Regions from separate parts of the Homo sapiens genome. Here region 2 is linked to region 1. Evidence: promoter capture Hi-C in 16 types of primary human blood cells and fetal thymus (Javierre and others, 2016). All regions are on one chromosome and are shown on one strand. Each heading gives the region's core, a stretch centred on a gene start or on the middle of the fragment in contact. The rest is flanking DNA. Distances are from core to core; before and after follow the strand shown.

What was found. Contacts are between HindIII fragments. The CHiCAGO score rates a contact against its expected background, and 5 or more counts as called.
Region 2: a fragment that was not itself captured here is called in contact with the fragment with the promoter of CASTOR1 in region 1 in 5 of 17 cell types (naive CD4 T cells, total CD8 T cells, naive CD8 T cells and 2 more); the score reaches 7.3 in naive CD4 T cells.

Annotation. Positions count from the first base shown.
Region 1 is chr22:30,286,076-30,292,977 of GRCh38, forward strand. CASTOR1 (cytosolic arginine sensor for mTORC1 subunit 1) reads right to left here and starts at 3,430. Exons shown (of 9, transcript NM_001037666.3): 1 at 3,310-3,430; 2 at 2,631-2,701; 3 at 1,298-1,485; 4 at 1,080-1,212; 5 at 750-873; 6 at 188-301; 7 at 1-23. The coding sequence starts at 3,422. It overlaps TBC1D10A (TBC1 domain family member 10A), which reads right to left. Exons shown (of 9, transcript NM_031937.3): 9 at 5,915-6,776. The coding sequence ends at 6,300. RefSeq lists silencers at 3,088-3,167, 3,368-3,807 and an enhancer at 4,688-4,747. The HindIII fragment of the contact is 5,917 bases long and covers 1,845-6,902 here.
Region 2 is chr22:30,329,902-30,336,803 of GRCh38, forward strand. SF3A1 (splicing factor 3a subunit 1) reads right to left here. Exons shown (of 16, transcript NM_005877.6): 14 at 5,751-5,852; 15 at 5,566-5,637; 16 at 2,087-4,794. The coding sequence ends at 4,693. Among named protein-coding and RNA genes, the nearest start is that of TBC1D10A, 6.4 kb to the left of the region's middle. The HindIII fragment of the contact is 5,900 bases long and covers 1-5,689 here.

The DNA of each region.
Region 1 (6,902 bases), core at 2,180-4,679:
TCAGCAGGAGGTCACTGGGGAACCTGGGGAGGGAGATGGGTGATGGGCAGGGCACCCCCATCCACCCCTGCCTGACCGTGAGCTCTGGGACAGGTACACCTGCTGACCTCAGAGTCTGATGCCCCACCTCCTCCCTGCCTGGGACTGGCTGGGGCCTGGGGCCCACCCGGGGTCAGGGGTCACCTACTTTTTCTGTGTTTCAGCATCCATGACAATGGAGATATAACCCTCGATGAGGGAGAAGGCAAAGAACGTGATGGAGCTGGGTTCAGGACTGCTAGAGGCTGCCTCCTTGGGGGTGCTGGGGAGGGATGGGAGGTTTAGGGGCTCTACCAGGCACCCAGCCTACTGCCCCTGCTCCCGATCAGCCTCCAGAACCCTGGGAAGGAGCTGGTATGGTGGCCTGGGCAGGCTCTGCCATATCTGCTACCCGCCCAAGGGTCCAGCCCTCTGGAAGGTGTGGGTGGGGATGGGGGAGGACAATGAACCCAGCCTGTGCCAAAAACAAAGGATTCCACGGTGAGAGGGCCAGACCAGGGCATGGCTCAGACGACCCCACTGGAAAGGGATCCAGCTTTGGGGCAAGAACCTTCCCCGAACATCAGTGAAGCACAAGTGAGCATCATGGGCTGCCAGGAACCCCAAGAGAGGACAAGCAAGAGGTGCAAAACTGATAGATGGGCGGAAAGTGGTGGGACAGAGTGTAGGGAACAGTGCTGTGAGGACAAAGACGAAGTTCCAAGGTCCACCTGTGCGAGTAGAAGAGGACATCTATGAGGGTGGTGGCGATGGCTGGAAGCGTCTCAGGGTCCAGTGTGAGGACACAGAAGCGGTTCTGTGGGCTCTGGATGGGATGCACCGTGGGGCTGGGCCCTGCTGGAGGACAGCAGCAGGTGAAAAGGTGTCCGTGGGCTGGGGCGCCCCCTGGTGGCTAGTCAGGGAGAGGCGTGGGCCAGGGGCAGGTCTTGCTATCCAGGAACTGGCCGGGGTCCTCCTGCCCCACTGGGGCCCAAAAGGGAAGGGACCCAGTGGGAAGAGGAGGCCCTGCCCAAGTCCAAGTGTCAGGGGGCGGCCCTCACCATGCTGAGTGCGGGGAAAGCCATTGCTGGAATCATCCCTCGTCACAGGCACAGGCTCTCCGCCCACCTCGCGGTAAATGTCGAACTCCTGGGCCAGCGTGTGGATCACCACGGACAGGTCCTGCTCCCGCACCTGGGCCACAGCAGATGGCACATCACATGGGCTCCCAGGTACCTATATCCACCCTGCTCTGCATCAGCACCAGCAGGAAACTCACCAGGATGAAGTCCGTCTGGTAAGTGGACAGCATCAGCACAGACACGTGGTGCTCGGCCAGTGGCGCGATGACCGAACGGGCGATCTTGGTGACCCCAGCAGCCTGCACTGCCGCACCGCTGTGAGACGACACGTTCAGCACCAGCCATGTGGCCTCAGCTACTTGCAGGAACTCAGATGGGGGCAGCTCTGTGGGCAGGGGACATGTCAGGTCAGGGTCTACAAGGCTGGCCCCTGCCCCTCTCTGAGCCTCAGTTTCCCTTTCTGTGCCTTGGAGGGCTCCATCAAGGTAAGGGCAGGTCTGGAGGCTGGGGCTCCTGAAGTCCCTATGTGTGCAAAGACTGAGAAAGGCTTCAAGTGCTGGCCTGGTGGCATTGAAACTTCCCACTTAAGATCAGAGGTCCAGATTCAGACAGACCTGGGTTCAAATCCCAGCTTTGTTAATTTGTCTTATGACCTGGGGTGGGTGATTTGAGTCTCAGTTTCCTCATCTGTAAAATGGGACGACAATATCTACCTCACTACGGTGTCTTCTGTGGGTTAGCAGAAGCTTTGTACCACATGGCACCACCAGGGGGCATTCGCAGATCAGGTTGGCTGGGGGATTGCCTTCCCCTTTTGCAGACCCAGACTTCTGAAGTAAAAACAGGGAAACTAAGGCCTGCAGTGGAGCATGGGGACAGGCTAAGCTCCAGCTAGCTGGCCTGAGACTCCAAGCCTGTGAGGATGGGCAGGGCCAGCAGCAGGAGGAGGAGCTAGGCGTCAGCTCCAGGCCCCAGGGAGGGCCCAGGCTGGCGTCCAGTCCTGAGCTGGGGCCAGGGCCTGGGTGGCTGCTATTCACCCCAGCACAGCCAGGAGGCCTCCAGGACCCTCCCCTGAGATGGCTGCCTGCTCCTGCATTCCTTCCCTCAGACTCCTGGAGTTTCCAGACCAGCAGGGGAGGAGGTGACCCAAACCAGAGAGTAAGACCAGGAGGAAATAATACCCAGGGATTTCTAACAGCAGCACTTGACTGGAATCATAACAGAGGCCCTTCTGCAGGCCTAAGACTGCTGAGTGCCCCTCAGCGGTTTTAAGTTTATAAAGGCCTCATGGGACCCTATGTATCAGAACCATAACTATACCCATTTTACATAAGAGAAAACAGCTCAGAGAGGGAAAGTGATTTGCTCAAGGGCACACAGCCAGGGAGTGGTGGAGTAGGATTCGAACCCCGACCCATCTGCTTTTAAGGCTTAAGCTCTTGGGACGGATCCCAGCAACTGGTGAGAACCCTACAGAAGGGGAGCACGACAAGCCCCTCCCGTACTCCCGTTCCCCAGACCAACCCCCACCTTTAAAGCCCTCCTCGTCCACCATAAGCGTGTAATCCTCAGGGGTCTCCGTCAGGCTGAAGAACTTGCACCTGGTTGGGGGTGGGGAGCATCTTCAGCTTGGTGTGGAGAACTAGGGGTCGGGAGTGGATTTCTCTCCATCTGCCCCGAGACACCCCCGCGACCCTGGGCCGGGCGCCTTCTTGCCCTCTCGGCCTTTAATTTCCAGGCCAATGGGATGTTAGCCCCATCTCGGGGGTTGGGGGCTACTTTCCGGCCTCCCGACCTCTCCAGGAACCCTCCACCCCTCCACTCCTGGAGGGAGGAGAGGTTCACACCCGCGGCGACAGCCCCAGGGGCGTCGGACCTTGGACCCCCTAGTCCAGCCCCTCTGACATGAAGGGAGGCGTCCTGGAAGGAGCTCCCCGCAGTGACCAGGTAGGAATGCCCCCATTTGACACTACTGAGTTAAGCATTGCCCATCCCAGGCTGTTTGCGCTTTGCCCCTGGGAGGGGGCCTCACGGGGCCGGATAGGCGGCGGTCCCCCAGGCCGGATGGCGGCCGGACGGGGAGAGTCCTCCCCACCCGCTCCCGCCCGCCTGCCTGCCTGCCTTACGGCGATCCTAATCCTCCGACCCTGGCCCGGAGCGAGAGCAGAGCCCCCAGCCCCTATCTGCGCTCCCGAACCCGGGCGCGCACCGGCTGCGGCGGGGCAGGAAGAGCAGCTTGATGAGCGGGTGGGTGTAGAGCCAGAGACCGGGACGGGCGACGCTCAGCACCCGCACCCGGTGTTCTAGGATGTGCAGCTCCATCGCGGCTCGCGCGGACCCGACCCCGCCGCCAACTAGACCCAGGCCGCACGGGAGGCGGGGCGGCGGGGGTGGTGCCCGAGCCTTAAAGGAGCCGCTGCGCTGCCGCGTCCACGCCGCCCGCTGCGAGGCTGACCCGCCCAGCCAGGCGCGGCGTCCGGCTCCTTGACGGCCACGCCCCGCGGGAAGAGAAGCCTATTGGGTGGTCACGCCTCCTCCTAACGCCAGAACCTCATCCCGCTTTCCAGCCAGCCCACCGAGACCGCCCCGAACGGCTCCGCCTTTTTTAGTACTGGCTCGGGGATAGACCCCACCCCGTCTGACTCCTCCAGGCCCCGCCCCTGACGCGCCCCCTCCCTGGGCTCCGCCCTTTCCGCGGAAAGCCAGCTGCGCAGCCGGTGGGAGCATCCCGGAGGGGACGTTTCTGTCCTTCTGGCACACACGTGGGTTTCATGATTGAAGTCCTTGAGACAGAAGGGACACGAAACAAACTGGAGCTCGGCTAGGACCAGAACGCTGCCCCCAAATCCCCGGAGCAATGAGAGGCACAGGTCTGCTGTGCAGCGCTGTCCCCCGGGCGCCTTTCGCTCTCCTGCCTCTCATGGCTGCAGGGGGCAGGGCCGCCAACACAGGATTGCGATTGATACCTACCCTTCCCCGCTTGCGAGGGGGCTGACAAATTGAAACCTGGCCTGGTAGCCCCACTTGTTCCTTTCATCCAACTTTCAAAATAGAAGGCTCCTCACCAGGGGCACACAGAGGTAGAATCCTAGCCACCTCTGCCTGAGCGACATACTTTGGGTTAGGGGGCTGCAGGTGGCCAAGGCCTAAGGCTTGAGGTCCCTCGATACCAACAAAACCCGGAAGTGCTTGAGCCAGTAATGCCCAGTGCTCAGACTTTGGTGGGGGAGGCCCTTGCAGCTGAGGTTCAGTGAGTACTCAGACCTCAAGCCTGAAACTTGAGCCCCAAAGCCTGCAGCCCTTAGCTAGCCTGTGCACATCTAAACTTGCTTCAGGTTCAAGGAGGCCCCCGGCACTGGCAGACACCCCAGATCTTATCAGGCCTTCACAGGTCTAAGACCCCCCCAAGGCTAAGCAGGCATCAGCATGTCCATGTTGGCTCCATGCAGGGCTGAGAATGCTCCAGGGGACCCTTGCCTGGCCTGAGCACCCTGAGGCCTCAGATGTGAGGCTTTGAACCAAGTAGACTAAAGCAGGCCTCAGGCCTGATTGGGACCCAGCAGGCCTAAGCAGGCCCTCTGCCTGCTCTGGAGCCCCCACCATAGGCAGATGGAAGCCAAGCTAAGCCTCCTCCCTGGACTCTCGGGCTTGACACATTCCTGTGAAACACTATGTAGCCACCACATCCTGGCCTATCCCCTGGAGGACTAGGGGAAGGAGGAGCTTCTCAAAGGCTGAGCCCATCTCATCAATGGCAGGTGCAGACAGAGTGGGAAACCATGGGGCTGAGGGGAAGGAGGCAGGAAGTGGAGTGGCCTACCCTGATAGTCTCTTGAAACCCTTCACCTCCCTAGGCCTCAGTATCCCCAGCTGTACCAGGACAGGATGTTCCAGGCCCAGGCGAAGGCTGAAAGCTCCCAGGGAGGCTCTGCTCCTCCCTCTCCTGCCCCCTCCCGCTATGGCCTGGCCTGGCCCAGCTTGGTCATCTGCCAGGAATAGCGCTATTGTTTGACTGGAAAAGCTGCTTCCTCAGCAGAAGGGGGGCCTCTCCCAGGGACACCCTGTCCTTGCCCTCACCAGTCATCAGGTTGTGACCGCAGTGCCTGCCTGGGCCCTCAAGGGCAGAGTCAGGTCTCCTGGAGCCCTGGTCAGGAGAGGAAGCTGAGTGAGGGGCTCTTGGTGCAAATCCGGCTGAGGCTTTCCCATTCAGCTCCTGTTTCCTCGTCTGTTAAATGGGGCTAATGGAGCCTACTTGACCAGTCCAGCCTGGCACTTGGCAGTAAATCGAAGGCGGCATTTTATCAAAGAACCACAATTCGCCCCCCTCCCTGAGGGCCTGGGCTGAGCCTGTGAGGACATTCGTGGTGCTCCACTCCGGGCCCCGTCCCTGACCCCAACCCAGAATCAGCTCTCAGAAACTTACTGGAGCCTGAGGTAGCATCCAGGCCAGGACTTGAAGGAGGAAGACCCTGAAACCTCCTCCTTAGGAGTCCCTGCCCCCTTGGTGGGTGGGTGAGGACCAAGGCCTAGGGAGCACGCCCTGCTCTGCCCAGCACTGAGCTCCAGCCCTGGTGTCCCTCATCTGTGGCAGAAGGTAGACATAAGGCAGTGGGGATGGGGTGAGTGAAAATGGGGGTTAAGAATGGGGGCTGACCAGGGACTTGGCATGTCCTCTGGCAAAGGTACCTCTCAGAGAGGCTCTGGTGCTGGGCTGGGGCCCAGGAGAAGGGGCTCTGTAGGGCAAAGAGAAGAGATGCTGAGCACCAAGGTGACCAAGGTGGTACCCCCTTCCCAGCCCCTAGCTGTACACGAGCTCTCTATACAAGGCTGTTTATTTCTGTACAAAACCATGTTTCTATTTTACACAAAGAACACCCCACCCTTTCCCCTCACACCAGCACCCTAACCCTGGGGAGCATCCCCCAGGAGGAGGGGGCTGAAGGAGGCCCCACCCCCCAGGCCCTAGCTTCTGCCTGCCCTGGCTGGGCCAGCCTGAGTGCCACTGTAAAGAAAATAAATAAGGAGGCTCAGGCAGAATCTGTGTTGGACCAGGCAGAATCTGTGTTGGACCAGCCAGACTCCAGCCCAGCCCAGTGGCCAGGCAGCTTGGCCCTCAGAGGGTGGGCAGGATGTGGAATGTCAGTTCATGAACCGTGTAGTTATATGGAGACCCCGCCCTGGAGGCCTTAGCTGCCAGGGTTACAAGTAGGTGTCCTCACTCTCTTGGGACGTCAAGCTCTCCTGGGAGCGGTGGTGGGCTGAGACCTGGGGAGCCAAATCCTGAGGGGCTGAGTCCTTGGGGGCTGAGTCCTTCGGGGGCACATGCTGTGGGGGACATGCATCTCCTGCAGCGGCCACCACCATGGCTTGATTTGGGGCTGGGGGCTTCTCCAGCTGCCCTCTCCCCTTCATCTGTTTCCGCTGCTCCTTCTGGGCCTGCTTGGGTGGCTTGGGCTTGGCTTTGGAGCCAGGGAGGGGGGCATCTAGGGGCAGGCGGATGGATGGTGAAGGTTGTAGGGCAGGCCGGGGACCAGGTTCTGCATCCAAGATAGCCTTGGCACCATGCAGCCTGGGCGGGGAGCGGCACTGCAGCTCACCCCGGGTCTCCTGCCAGCGCCGCAGCTGAATGAGGTGTTCGCGCTCAATCTGGCGCTCTGTCACGGGCAACTCCACCACCTGCAGGGGCAGTGACACAGGCAAGTGGACACCAAGAAGAAGGACCTTCCCCTTCTGCCTCCCAGCCTGGGCCCCCAGTCTTCCTCAGCATCCCCCAGCCTTGGCCACTAAACACTGACCCCAGGA
Region 2 (6,902 bases), core at 1,490-3,989, 43 kb after region 1:
AGGATGGTCTTGAACTCCTGGGCTCAAGTGATCTTCCCGCCTTGGCCTCCCAAATTGTTGGGATTACAGGCGTGAGCCTCCATGCCTGGCCAAACTCCAGAGTTCTTTATTTAATACACCTATAATGAGCCAGACATTAGTGCAGGGGTGTCCAACCTTTCGGCTTCCCTGGGCCACACCGGAAGAAGAATTGTCTTAGGCCATACATAAAATACACTAACGATATAGCTGATGAGTTAAAAAACATTGCAAAAAAAAATCTCATAATGTTTTAAGGAAGTTTACAAATTTGGGGCCGGGCGCGGCTCATGCCTATAATCCCAGCACTTTGGGAGGCCGAGGAGGGCGGATCATGAGGTCAGGAGATCGAGACCATCCTGGCTAACACGGTGAAACCCCGTCTCTACTAAAAATACAAAAAATTAGCCGGGCGTGGTGGCAGGAGCCTGTAGTCCCAGCTACTCGGGAGGCTGAGGCAGGAGAATGGCGTGAACCCGGGAGGTGGAGCTTGCAGTGAGCCGAGATGGCGCCACTGCACTCCAGCCTGGGCGAAAGAGCAAGACTCTGTCTAAAAAAAAAAAAGAGAAAGTTTACAAATTTGTGTTGGGCCACATTCAAAGCTCTCCTGGGCCATGGGTTGGACGAGCTTGCTCTAGTGAATAAGAGAGATGAAGTCCTGGCCCAATAGAGTTTATAGTCCAGTGGAGGAGGGACAACATGAACAAGCACAGAACATCTATCAGGTAGTGAGAATAAGAAAATAAAGCCAGGTAAGGTATGGAGAATGCTGGAGTAGGTGTTGGGGAGGTGGTATGGGCTGAAAATGAGGGACCCCTTCTGCAGGACTGAGAATAGTGTACAAGCATGGCAGCAGATGATTTTCCCCTTGAAGGAGAAGGAGGCTGTGTTGTTAGATTGGAGTGAGAAAGCAAGGGCAACAGTGAACCAATGAATAAATGATCAGAAAGGAGCCCTGCAGAATCACGTGGTTCACTGGAATAAAGAATTTAAGAGGCCTTAGGCAATGCTGTGGAACATCCTGGTGAACTGGCTGTTGGAGACATTCTTTTGAAGATAGAATGTGTTGATATCCCAGAGTCTCATCCTGCTGGGGTCATTCCCAACAGCTGGGCTTGAGGATCTCACATAGGCCCCTCTCCTGGATCCTGGAATGTGCAGTTGGCATGTGCTCAGGAAACCTGTGAGCACTGGCCATGAGCAAAAGTCCAGATGCCCTTTTTTTTTTTTTTTTTTTTTTTGAGACGGAGTCTTGCTCTGTTGCCCAGGCTGGAGTGCAGTGGTGTGATCCTGGCTCACTGCAACCTCCACCTCCCGGGTTCAAGAGATTCTCCTGCCTCAGCCTCCCAAGTAGCTGGGATTACAGGCACCTGCCACCTGTTATAACAGTATTCTCTGTAATGATCTATTTTAATTTTAATTTAAAAAAACTTTTTTAGAGATGAGTTCTCACTATGTTGTCTAAGCTGACTTTGAACTTCCTGGCTCAAGCAATCCTCTTACCTCAACCTCCCAAGCAGCTGGAACTACAGGTGTGTCACTGTGCCTGGCAGGAGTTTATCTTGTCCTGCTTCATGGACTGTAGTGTCCAGGGGTACCTAGAATTGTTCACTTACATGCTGGGAGCAGTGTCAGGGCATGGTGTCAGGGAACTCACCAGGCAGTGTTCTTTTATATAACAATGCAGCCTTTTTTTTTTTTTTTAGACAGAGTTTCAATCTTGTTGCCCAGGCTGGAGTGCAATGGTGCTATCTCAGCTCACCACAACCTCCACCTCCTGGGTTCAAGCGATCCTCCTGCCTCAGCCTCCCAAGTAGCTGGGATTACAGGCATGTGCCACCATGCCCGGCTAATTTTGTATTTTTAGTAGAGACAGGGTTTCTCCATGTTGGTCAGGCTGGTCTTGAACTCGCGACCTCAGGTGATCCGCCCGCCTCGGCCTCCCAAAGTGCTGGGATTACAGGTGTGAGCCACTACACCTGGCAACAATGCAGAATTAAAAAAATGTAACAATACAGAATAGTTAACAGCAAATCTCCATATCTGGTAGAGTTAATGATCATAACTCTTAAGATCTTACATTTTGCTTTTATTTTTAAAAAGTAAACTTCTAAAAATCTTATACACTGGTATGTGTACCCATGAGTAGAGCTATATTATGCTTTCTTGTCTAATTACAGGGATAAATGAAATATGATTGCTAATAGTACATGTATTTCCATTCAAGTATATATCCTAACATAACCCAATATAACCATTTAATATATTCTCTAATACAATATTATTAATTTTAAAGTAAAATGGTTCTGATCATTACTGGCCTCCTCTAAGAGTACATGACAAGTACTTAAGTAGTGGGTAGAACTGAAAGTGAAATTCCTTAATGTCTACAATTCCTGGAGCCCTCTGCATGCAAGTCTTCAAAATTATGGTGACTTAAGTCCCACACCACCTGTTTTCCCAGCAGTCCTGCAACAGGAGCACTTATTCCTATTTCATAGTGTGGTCTGGTGGAGCAGAGCAGTGTGGTCCCCAGGAAGGGATGAGCTGCTTTGGCTTTCCAGAGCACTCACTGGCTACATGACCTTGGGTATTCCACCTCGTTTTAAAAATGGGGCAGATAATCCTCAGGAGATTGCAAGAAGAATCAGAAAAGCTGTGCAGAGCAGCTTTGTATTATAAACACTAGGACGCTACCTACATGCTGCAGGTCCTAAACTAGTGCAGTGCCAAGCAGCACACTGGGCCTGTGGCCACTGATGTTCACAAGGCCTCATGGTCAATGGAGCTTCTGCATCTGAGCGAGCCAGTACAGATATTCATTCAGGAGCTCCAGGAAACTGGATTTGCTCTCTAGAGGGCAGCTCAAAGGGCCCATTCACTCACAATCCACCCAACGGCATTCCTGGCCTCCGGTCACAGCCTCAGCCACGGAAGTCCTGCAGGGTTTGCCAGTCTGTGGGGGTGAGTGCCCTAACACCATGAACTGCCCACTGCTCCCAGAAAGAAAGAAGAACTTGGAATATGAGACTCCCCAGGTCTCCTGACCCTCTTCCTTCTTGGAATGAGACCCAGGTAGTGCTCAGGGGATTTCTGGTGTTGGCCATGGACAAGCAACCAGTAGTGGGCTCACTTTAGGGACGCAAACCACAAAGCCCACCTCAGGAAGCCAAATTTCAACTCTTGCCCCTGGGGCAAACTTCTAGCAACCAGGCCAGAGGCAAATGTCAGACAGGATAAGGGATGACATCCCATCAATCAAGTTGAAAATGGGAGGGACCCAGCAGTTTGTAATAAAGCCATAAAACTGGTACTGACTCTGGGTGAGAGGGAGAGGCAGGGTGGTGACTAGAGAGCTGGTTCTGTGACCTTGGGAAATGGTCTCACCCCTCTGAGCCCTGGAGATGACCTGATGGGGCAGCTAGGAGGTCCAAATGGAAGGACTGCAAATAAAAGGCACTGGGAACTCTCAGGGGCCACACACATGTGAGATCTTCCCAATAAAATCAGCCTTAGCTTTAAAACCAGGAAATTGTTAGCAACAGGCTCTCACCTTCCTCCAACACCCACAGCATTGCCTATCTCCCTGTGATAGCTTGATTCTAAAGATAACAGCCTGCCTTTACTCAGAAACCAGGACTGTGACGTGTTTTGCACACATTCTCTTTTCACTTTCACAGTGTGTGACTATGGCATGCAACTTATGTTCTCTGTGCCTCAGTTTACTCAAGTGTTAAACAGGAATACTCACATGAGGATTACATGAGTTAAAATGGATAAAATGGATAAAAGTAGAGAGTAAATTATTTAAACTTTATCAAATCCTTGGTACATGACCTTAATACAATTAAGTATTTGTTAAATACATACATTTTAAAGAAACGTCATCATATCCACACACCTATGAGGCACCTGCCCAGGACCACAGAGCCAATCAATCAGGTGATGAGTGATTCCAGGCCAGCAGGAAACCACCGCCCACTGACACAGGGACTGCACCATCCATCCTTGGTTTGCATGGTGCCTGCCATGCTTCCTGTATTACTGTTAAATACATGGGGCAGGCCTTTGGAGGATCCCAATGTTTTAAAAGGGCAATACGAATATGATTCTAATACATAAAAAGTATGAGGGCAGCAAGAATTTAGTTACAAAACCCAAAAATCCTCAAAGAGAAGCCACATAGCACTGTGCAGTGTTACCACTGCCTCGAGTCTGGACAGGGCACAGGTGACCGAGACAAGTCTTATTTAACTGATTTCACAAGAAGGGTCCGAGTTTTATTAGACAACCCATGTCAAGGTACAAAATGATTAATGACAATATCAGCCATATTCTATTAGCCAAGTGCCACCTGTCACTATGAAACTATCCTGTAGGACATCCCTGGGCTCTCAGTTGCTAATGGGCTGCTGAAGAAATGAATGTCCTCAAATCGAGACCCTAACACAAAGAGATTCCAGAGAGTGGCTTAGAAAACCCAGCTACTCTTACCAATGTGGGGAAAGGGTCAGGGGAATGAACCTCTGCAGGACAATTTGAATTCCCAAACTGAGTAAGAGCGAAACAAATATGCAGGCAAGGCAAAGCCTCAGGGGGGCTCCTGGGTCTGGGGCAGGGGGTGGGAGACAGGAGAGGCAAAATGGCAGGGACTTGACAGCAGGTTCCTCTTGTCTACTTCTTCCTCCCGCCTCTCTCCTTGAGGGCCAGGTGGATGACTGCGCCATTGGCCATGTTGTAGTAAGCCAGTGAGTTGGAATCTTTGATGAAGATACCCTGGAAAACAGACAGCGTGCCTTAGCATGGGGCAACCCAGCCTTGGGGATACCGCTGCAACCTTACAACTGTGCACTTGGTCTGTTTGCGCTCTGGACTTAGCAAATACAGGAGCTTGTGAGAAGGTAGGGTGTTGGGGACTGGAGGCCTCTCATTCCTCCCACTGTTTCCTTTCTTCCCACCAATTACGCTCCTCCCCTTTGTCAACATTTGACTCAAAAGCTCAACTCCCCAAAAAGTTGGCCCCTCACCAACTCCATGGAGCTCTGACTCTGAAATCACAAGACCTTTAGGGATCACTTAGCCCAACAGCCTCAATGGATAGAGATAACTGAGGCCCAGAGCAGGGATTTGTTCAAGTTCAGAGAAGAAGAACATTAATGCCTCCATGTGACCTGGCATCAGGCGGGGCTAGACTATCACCTCCAAGTCAGGCTGCCTGAGGTCATACTGGCAGGGATGGCCCAACCACTGGATCAGGAACCCACCAGAGCATGCCTAAGTCTTGTCACTAAATCTCTATGCCCAGTCATTGAGGCAAAGAATCTTACAGATCCCACACAAGACTCTACTGTGACCCCACCAGAGCCTTGCATTGTTGGGCACACCTGCCCCAACACTCCCAGCCAGCATCATGACTTCTAGGATGGATTCAGATGGCCACACCCAGATATCACTCCACTCCCCTTTTAGCTTCCATGACAGATTTAGCTTCTGTGAAAGCAGAGGTGTCAGGACCCAAGGGACAGGTCTGTGGACAAACTGACTCACCTCATACTGTAGCTTCTGTTTCCCTGCAGGCATGCCTGTGGCTTCATGAATCTTCACCTTAATGACAGAGACCTGTGGGATCAAGCAGCGGTCATTCAACTCCTTGGTAAGGCCAGCTAGAGGAAGCTTTCCCCTGAATGCTTGGTTCCCATGCACCTGATGCCAGTTTCTGGCAGTACCCATACCTGGTCCGTGAGTGGGAGGGTGAAGACCAGCACCTGCCCATTCAGTTTCCATTCCGTCTTATCCTGCATGTTGGGCACCTGGACTTTGATGGACACTGGACCCTACAAAACAGGAGGTGGTCATTATGCCTAGGGAGCTCGGAGCCAATCAAGAACTATGCTCTGCTATCCCTAGGCCTGTCCAGACAATGTCACCTGTGCATCTGGGCTCCTGGATTCTGGCCTGATTCACCACTGATAACCCCTTGTGAGGTTGTACAAGTCACCCCCCTTTGCAAGATTAGGTTTCTTTTCTTTAAAACAATCTCTATCTTGTCTCTTGGTGAGTCTGGAGCTAAACTGAAGAACTTTAGTGAAAATACTCTGCACACCCCAAGGGAAAAGAATATGACCTGCAGGGTCGGAAGACCTGGATTCCCAACTCAGCTTCCCAGCTAACAAGGTTTGTCTGAGCCTCAATGTCATTATCCACCAGACAGGGTTCATGACTGTTTTGAGTATTGAGGGGAAGTGTCTGTAAAGTGCTTAGCTCTATCCTGGTACTTAAGCGTTTAAGAAATGGGAACTATTATTAAAAAACAAACAGAGCGGGTGCAGTGGCTCACACCTGTAATCCCAGCACTTTGGGAGGCCAGCGTGGTGGATCACTTACGGCCAGGAGTTCAAGACAAGCCTGGCCAACGTGGCGAAACCCCATCTCTACTAAAATACTAAAAATACAAAAATTAGCTGGGTGTGTGGTGCACACCTGTAATCCCAGCTACTCCGGAGGTTGAGGCATAACAATCACTTGAACCCGGGAGGCAGAGGTTGCAAAAACAAAACGAAACAATTTGGTCAAATACATTGGGGGAGCAGAGGCCGGGGCTGTTTCTGTCTCCTTACTGCAGCCTGACAGCTTCCCTAGTGATTAGCAGTGACAAGGTCCCCACCTCCCCTTATTCCAGGACCCCAACAGGATCCCACCCAACAGGCAGACCTCCTAAGGGCTAGAGCTGGGGAGGAAGGCCACAGTAAATTTTAAAACACCACACACAATTTCCTCCAGGTGTCTAGGGTCCCTCTCACACGTGAGTTGTGCTGCCCGTGCTGCTGGGTCTCCCTGTTGGCCTCTGTAAGTCTACACCAGAGGGACCACCACAGTCACCACCT